Regions from separate parts of the Homo sapiens genome. Here region 1 is linked to region 2. The links are contacts of gene promoters, found by promoter capture Hi-C in human tissues and cell types (Jung and others, 2019). All regions are on one chromosome and are shown on one strand. The core of a region is centred on a gene start or on the middle of the fragment in contact, and the rest is flanking DNA. Distances in the headings are between cores, read along the strand shown.

Region 1 (4,004 bases), core at 488-2,987, 920 kb after region 2:
TAATTGCTTTGATATACAGCATGAGAACCTCAGGCATTAATGAAGAATGGTCGCATTTAATGTAGAAAATTGCTGATAATTCAGCTTGTAAATAGATACCAACTAGGTTTCCATGAACATACTGACTCAGCTAGTGTTTAATAGCTCCTGTTATTTGTCAGTCACAGTGTTAATTCACTAAATAAGAATATAGTCTTACTCTTAGTGCTGTATTCAAAATTTTTATTGACATGATCTACTTTTAGGATTTCACCGAAGTCCTAAATCAGTGCACTGGTGATGGAGATTCGAATGATGGCTTTATAATTTTTGATAAAATATCATGGTCCCCTAATATTTTACATAATTTTTCTCTTCATTTTTGCCTTTTACTATCTCATGTTCCTTCAGTTCTGGGTTATGGGTGTTGAGGGCAGTTGATGGTATCAAATTTTATTGGGGAAAAGAAATTTAAAATTTAGAAAATCATTTTCTTAATTCTTTTTGGAAAAATAAACACATGTACTTATTCAGGAGGTATAAGAATGTTAATATATTTACCCACTAAGAGCCTTTAACTTGGACTATTTTACTCTCAAGGTTACCATTAAGAATATCGAAAGGGAGCTCATTTGCCCAGCATGCAAGGAGCTGTTTACCCACCCATTGATTCTCCCTTGCCAACATAGTATCTGTCATAAATGTGTAAAAGAACTCCTGCTGACTCTCGATGATTCATTCAACGATGTGGGATCAGACAACTCCAATCAAAGCAGTCCTCGACTTCGGCTCCCCTCCCCTAGTATGGATAAAATTGACCGAATTAACAGACCAGGTATGTGTTAGAACTGTGGGCTGGGATGGTAGTGGGGGTAAGCTTATAGATATATATTCAGTGGTAACTGGAAGGAAAATTATTTTTGTCATCTTGAGAGTTAATTTTTCCAGGTGAATAAATTAAAACTGTAGTTATAAAGGGGCCTCCCCCACTGTTAAAATGTCAAAATGAACTCTCGTCTTTTGATACATACTTGAAGTAGATATTGGATATTGAACATGAACTTTGTGTTAAACTCCTTATTAACTGTGTTTGTAAGTCTGGGCACAGTGGCTCACACCTGTAATCCCAGCACTTTGGGAGGCCATGTCGGGTGGATCACCTGAGGTCATGAGTTCAAGACCAGCCTGACCAACATGGAGAAACTCCATCTCTACTAAAAATACAAAATGAGCTAGGTGTGGTGACGCGTGCCTGTAACCCCAGCTACCTGGGAGTCTGAGTCAGGAGAATTGCTTGAACCTGGGAGGCGGAGGTTGCAGTGAGCCGAGATCGCGCCATTGCACTCCAGCCTGGGCAACAAGAGTGAAACTCTGTCTCAAAAAAAAAAAAAAAGCTATGTTTGTCTTTAGGAATTATTCTGACTGTGCAATGTACTTGATACATAGAATAATGGACTACTGAAATACTAACTAGGAAAACATTCATATATGGTAATAGGAAAATAAATACTGCAGAGTTAAGGAGTGGGACTACCTAATGGCTAGTCATCACCTTTATGTTTCCTCCCTTGCTGCCAATCTGGCGCACTGAGGAGGGAAAGACAGCATCCCTTGAAATCAGTCCTACTAGATAAAACTTGATATTCTGCTGGTAGATCTTCATTGGCTAATTGGGAACCCATGCTTGATTGACCAAAGAAAACTTTTTGTATGTTAATATTTAGCAAAAACAAATAAAATTTTAGTTATGTACTAGATATTTCTACTTATAATTAGATTGCACTTATATACATATTTCACAAAATTCTGTAGGCTTTTAATGTTAAGATTTGGCTAGTTTTTTATGTGATTCATATGAAGAACAAGATGAATGATTTTCTGTTTTCAGGAATTTACCTGACATGGTACTCTGTAGATGCTTAATAAATATTTGTTGAATGGATGTTGAATGAGAAACCTCTGCCACAGGATTTGTACAGAGAGTGCCACAATGGCTTATATTCAGTAATAATGGCATTTGTCTTTTGGAATATGAGCTCCATTACACCATACATTTCACTGTCTAGATCCGAAATAGCATTACTGGGATGTTTCTCCCTCTTCTTTAGGAAGAACCCTACGAAGTTAGATTATGTCCTGAGAGGGGAAACTTAGAATGGTGGAGTTTGAAAACTTTTCTCTGTAAAGAACAGTTACAGGAGATGAGAAGGGGTGACTGCAGAATATGATAGTTTTCTTATGGATAGAATGAGTATGCTGGATATCTCTAGCAGAGGTTCCAGGTCAATGAGTAGATGGAATAGGAAGGCAGATTTAACTTAGCATGAAAGAAGACACACGCGCACACACACCCCACTAAGGCTGTCCAGAAATGAAATGGGCTAAGTATATCAGACTTCTGCCACTAAATGTGTTTACATCAGGTGTCAAATTTAGATGCTGCAGGGCCAAACGGGTGCATTAATGAAGAGAGCCCCAGGCATAATAAATATAGGACTCTCCTTCATTTTAGTTTTTCGCTGTAAATATGGAGACAATAAATATTTGATTTTCCCTTTAGCTCAACTACTGTAAGAAAACCATCAGCCCAAAGTGACAGCAGCCAACTGATTTTACGACTCCTTATTGGAGAAGTAGAGTGTGGTTTGGGACTGTGGAGACTGAAACGGATGCCTTGTTAAAGGGGGCAGTAACCACTTGGCAGTGTCAGGGTTGAAGATGCCAGATTGTCAGATTTATTGGTTTTTCACAAAAACTTGATAGTGGTTTCCATGTGAAATCTGTTTTTTAAATATTTTCAATTCAGATTATTTAACAATACCACACCAGCTCAATAGGGCAGGACAGCCAAAACATGTCTTTGGCTGTGACCCATGCAGCATTTGGGCCATCAGTATCTGAAGACTTTGTTTAAAACAATGGGTGGGTGGCCACTGTCTGCAATATTGTGGAGGGTGTTTCTGCTGTGGGTGGTAGGTTGGGCCAGTTGTTCTGTCACATGCCATATCTCCAGCACTGAAGTTCTATGCCTTATTAAATACCAGTGGCATTCATTCATTCATTCAACAAATATTTGAGCACCTGCTGGTTACCAGATATGGCTAAATGGTTAAGAACAATGAGCGAGATAGACCCACTTTCTTTTCTTTTTTTTTTTAAAGACACATACCCCTTAGCATTGTGCAAAGCTTTATAACAGCTGTAATTACTAGAGCATAGTCCTTTATCACGAACACACACAGATCAAGTTAACAAAGAGAGAGCACCCAAAGGGTGCGAATGCTGTAAGTATGGAAATCATTCCTGGAGGTTTTAATGCAAATTTTAGGATTGTCCTTCACCAGTTTTAAACTAGTAGAAGTCATTGCAGTGCAAATGTGATGTTACTTGCCATCTATTTATTGGGCATTTGCATATAATTCTTTTTTTGGTAGATTCATGAGTAATATTCCTTTTTTTCTGACAGCTTTCTTCTTAAGTTTTTATCCTTTAGACATTTATTTGAGACAGGGTCTCACTCTGTTTGTTACCTGGGCTGGAGTGCAATGGCTTGATCATAGCTCACTGTAACCTCTAACTCTGAGGCTCAAGTGATCCTCCTGCCTCAGCCTCCTACATACCGGAGACTAGAGGTGCATGCTACTCACTCGCACCCTGCTAATTAAAAAATTTTTTTTGTGGAGAAGAAGGTCTCACTTTGTTGCCTAGGCTGGTTTCAGACTCCTGGCTTCAAGCAGTCTTTGTGCCTTGGCCTTCCAAAGTGCTGGGATTACAGGCGTTATTCACTATACCCAGTCTAGTTTTGCCACTGGTCTAATAAAGGGATTAATTAAACCCGGATTGTCCAGTATGGTAGCCACTAGCCACATGTGGCTATTAAGTGGTTGAAATGTGGCTAGTCTGAATTGAGATATGCTGTGAGTTAAAATACACAGAATAAAAAAGACTGTGAAATGATCTTTAATAATTGTTATATTGTTTATATTTTGAAATCATAGTATTTTGGATATAGTGGGTTAAATAAC
Region 2 (4,109 bases), core at 545-3,044:
TTTTGTAGAGACAGAGTTTTGCCCTGTTGCCCAGGCTGGTCTTGAACTCCTGAGCTCAATCAGTCCTGCAGTGGCTCACCCCTATAATCCCAGCACTTTGCAAGGCCAGGGAGGACAGATCACCCGAAGCCAGGAGTTCCAGACCAGCCTAGCCAACATGGTGAAACCCCATCTTTACTAAAAATACAAAAAATTAGCTGGGCGTGGTGGCGGGTGCCTGTAATCCCAGCTACTCAGGAGGCTCAGGGAGGAGAATCGCTTGAACACAGGAGGCGGAGGCTGCAGTGAGCCGAGATGGCGCCATTGCACTCCAGCCTGCGCAACAAGAGGGAAACGCCCTCTCAGGGAAAAAAAAGAGAGAGAGATTAGCCCGCCTCAGCCTCCCAAAGTGCTGGAATTACAGGCATGAGCCACAGCACCTTTCCTGTAATAATCAACTTTAAATGATGTGATGAGAACAATTCTATACTGCACCATATTGGATACAGTTTACTGATGTAGCGGTGTTCCCCAAGACACTGGTATGAGGAAAGAAACTGGCGATCAGAACCAAAGTGAGGCAGGAAAATAGGGTCAGGAGGCTGGGAACATAAAGCTGATTCCCACTTCAGCTATGACAAGAAATGTCCTCTCCATATGGCATAGGCGGAGAAAATGACTTTGTAACTTTACTTCATCCTCTTCATTTACATAGGGAGTACACCAAGTAACCAATGGAATCCTCTAGAGGGTATTTAAATTCCCAAAAATTCTGTAGGGGCCCTTCAGCCCCTATGCTCAAGCAGCTCCCACACTGTGGAGGGTAGTTTCATTTTCAATAAATGTCTTCTTCATTCTTTCCTCGCTTTCTTTGTGCGTCTTCTCCAGTTCTTTGTTCAAGACGCCAAGAACCTGGACACCCTCCACTGGTAACAAAAGGAATCCAGAAAGAAGGAAAAACTTTAAAATAACTCTTTTCTTCTGAAAGATTTCTACCCAATCCAAGCACAAAGAAATTACTTCCGAACACTATTTTGCCTATATACTTCAGTACTTTTTCTGTATCCACACGCTACCTGCACTATTGCTTATTTTTTCACAAATTGAGTCTTTTTTTACTTAAATAATGTTAAAGGGGAGCTTTATATCACTACCATGGACAACCAACTTTATCTACCATAAGTAGAAATTAACTAAAAATCTGTTTAAAATGCAAATAAAAGCAAATGCTACCAAAGCCAGGCTAGATTCTTCTACCAACCAAAAATTCGGTCCCCTATTCGATACTGATTTAAAAGGGGTATTAACACATGTTGGCTATTAAAGACCCTCCAGCAGCAGCGTGAGCCTTTCCCACCAGAGTGTCTGAACCGGAACTGAAATCGGAAACGGAATACCGTTCCACGTGATTCGGCAGCACTGAAGGCAGCACCCGGGAACTTCTGATACCAAACTCCGCGAACAGTGACGCAGACCCCACGCTTGCAGACCACACGCTTCCGTACAGACCTCAGCTGCCAGGCGCACTGTGAGCCCCACAGGTGGACCACCGTGACTGTAGAGGCGCTACACGGCCCCACGCACTCCGCAGACGCAGCGTCGCAACCTCGGCAGCCCACCCCACCCCACCCCACTCAACCGGGCCCGCCGCGGCGCCCAGGCGGCAGGCAGCAAGGACAGCCTTGTGCGAGCCCGATCTGGGCCTTCCTGGGCGCGGCTACCGCAAGAGCTTAACGGATCAGCTACCTGGGGCTCTCCCGTAGGATCAGCGCCGCGGGGACCGCCATCTTCGGCTTTCTCGCACTGCCGCCGTCTGTTAGCTGCGCCGAACCCAGCCAATGGCGGCCGCGGCGGACGGAAAGCCGGAAGGCCCAAGCCGCGCAGGGGCCGTTTTAGGGCTCCGGGTCTCCTGCGACCCGGGCGCCGGGAGACTTGTCCCGCAGTCCTGGAGGGCGGAGAGGGCAGCCCAGTTGCCCTCCCGACACTCCAATCGTGTTGGAGTTAAGTCTGTGCATATATATGTCTTTATATTTATATATTATATATGTATGTACATACCTGGATAGGGGTGTGTGTCTGTATTTAATAGGGCAGGTTTAAGCAAGTCTATGTACAGACCTGTATAGATATATGTGTGTATGTTCGTGCATAAATATATACATTATTATTTTTAATAGGGCAGGTTTAAGCAAGCCCGTGTATACATACTTGGATAAATGGTGTGTGCGTGTGTATATTTTTTTAATAGGGCGGGTTTAAGTGAGCCTGTGTGTACATACTTGGATAGGTGATTTGTGAGTATTTTTTTTTCCAGCGTTTGGGCTACAGAGAGGCAGGCATTTGAGCGAGCTCCCCCGAGCCTGCCCAGGAAGCGGCGCATCACCCCTCAGGAGAGGTGGTGCCTCCAGTTCCACCCTAAGCACTGTGCCGTCAACCCCTCCTGTATCTGCATCTGCAGGGCTTGTAGTATGTACGTTCAATTCCTTCAGCAACGTTCAATGAATGAGTGCCTACTGTGTACCAAGCACTGTTCTAGGCACTGGAGATACAAAAGGCCAAAATTCCTGCCCTCAGGGTTTGCCGGCAGTCTAAATGGACAAGTATTTGTTGCACCCTTCTTTAGAGTCTGACAGTGCAGAGTAGGGGAGATGAATCGCTGCAGTGAGTGATGTCAAAGACCTCACCCAAGACTAGGGAGACACCATGTTTGCATAAATACCTTGGTCTGCCTTTGAGAAAAACATGGAGTGAGTTAAAGGAATTCAGATGTGGGAGCAGTGAAAGGCATCCGAGGTAAGATCAGGAAAAGCTCCCTAGGGCAGGTGGCAAATGCGGTGGGTCTGCAGAGATGTGGAGGGTGAGGCTGTGTGTTTCAGGTCAGTAGAGTAGAAGGGCGGTTTGACGTTTGAAGAACAGGAATTTAGACTAGAAAAAGCCTTTAATGACTGGTTGTGGCATGTGCACTTAATCTGGTGAGAAATGGGTAAGCATTAAATGTTTTTTCTATCCATTAAATGTTTTGAACCAAAGAAATTTTGCAGTGGGAGTTGGATTTTTGAAGGTTGCTGTCAGCAGAATGATGATTGAAATGGAAAGAGGTAAGCAGGAGAGCTACCTGGAAACTACTGCAATAATCTATAGAAAGCAGTAAAATCCTGTGGTACTAAAAAGGCATTGGTGAATTAAAAGATAGTGGATGGATTAGTTACGTTTCAGCAGTAGAATATTCAAGAGCTGCCAAAAAATTGAATTTAATTTTCCTTCCTAATTATGTTTTACTTAAATTATTATTTAAATTAGTTGGAGTTCCTGGAGCAGCCCAAGAACAACCTAACTGAAAGGAGAAACCAGATTGCACATTAAATCTGAATAATCTCCACATGGATAATTGAGTCAATTATACAGTGTGTTGAACACATACAAATACATTTAGTTCCACAACACTCTACAGTCCCCAATGTATGCATATCTGAAAAAGATGTATGTGAATCTACATAAATTATAGGTCTCTGATCCAAACACAGATGACCTCATCTGCAACTTAAAAGGGTCCCAGTTCCCTCATTCTTTGAATCATTTCCCTTTTGTCTTGATTCCTTACCTGAAGTAGAACCACTAACCAACTAAAACTGTTTCAAATCCCTAATGAAGTTCACCCTCTGATTGCCTTAAAAATATATAGCCAGAATTTTGAGCAAAAGAGCATCAAGATGGCTCAAATCCCAAATCCATGTAACCTTGGACAAAGTACTTAACCTCAACAAGTTTCTCATTCCCAATCTGTAATGGGGATGAGAATAATGTCTGCTCCCTTGGATCTTAATGAGATTTAAATAATGTGGTACGTATGTAAAAGAAACATTCTACCCTCCTTAGAAAACAAAACCCAGACCTCTTAGGTGTTCACAAAAGCAAGTCTCCAGTGGACACAGAGGCGACTCACTCTAATGCTCTTCATTTTCAATGATGGGCTGATTACTTCTTATTACCATGTTTCTATAAAGGCGTGATGCTGTGAATAGTTTCACACCTCAAATGAGAACCTCACCCAAGATATTTCTGCATTCTCTGGAATATAGACATCTATGTCCATGAAAAGTCCTTTTAGTTGTCTGCTATTATTGTGTGGG

Evidence for each region. The method cuts DNA at HindIII sites, captures the fragments that hold promoters and counts their contacts. A contact is called where the count stands out against the background at its distance.
Region 1: a contact is called between a fragment that was not itself captured here and the fragment with the promoter of COMMD10 in region 2, in 1 of the 25 tissues and cell types used here (spleen).

Annotation. Positions count from the first base shown.
Region 1 is chr5:115,160,328-115,164,331 of GRCh38, reverse strand. TRIM36 (tripartite motif containing 36) reads left to right here. Exons shown (of 10, transcript NM_001300759.2): 2 at 580-814. Among named protein-coding and RNA genes, the nearest start is that of TRIM36, 7.6 kb to the left of the region's middle. The HindIII fragment of the contact is 5,784 bases long and covers 1-4,004 here.
Region 2 is chr5:116,082,710-116,086,818 of GRCh38, reverse strand. COMMD10 (COMM domain containing 10) reads right to left here and starts at 1,794. Exons shown (of 7, transcript NM_016144.4): 1 at 1,726-1,794. The coding sequence starts at 1,766. RefSeq lists enhancers at 1,253-1,547, 1,841-2,000. The HindIII fragment of the contact is 16,445 bases long and covers 1-4,109 here.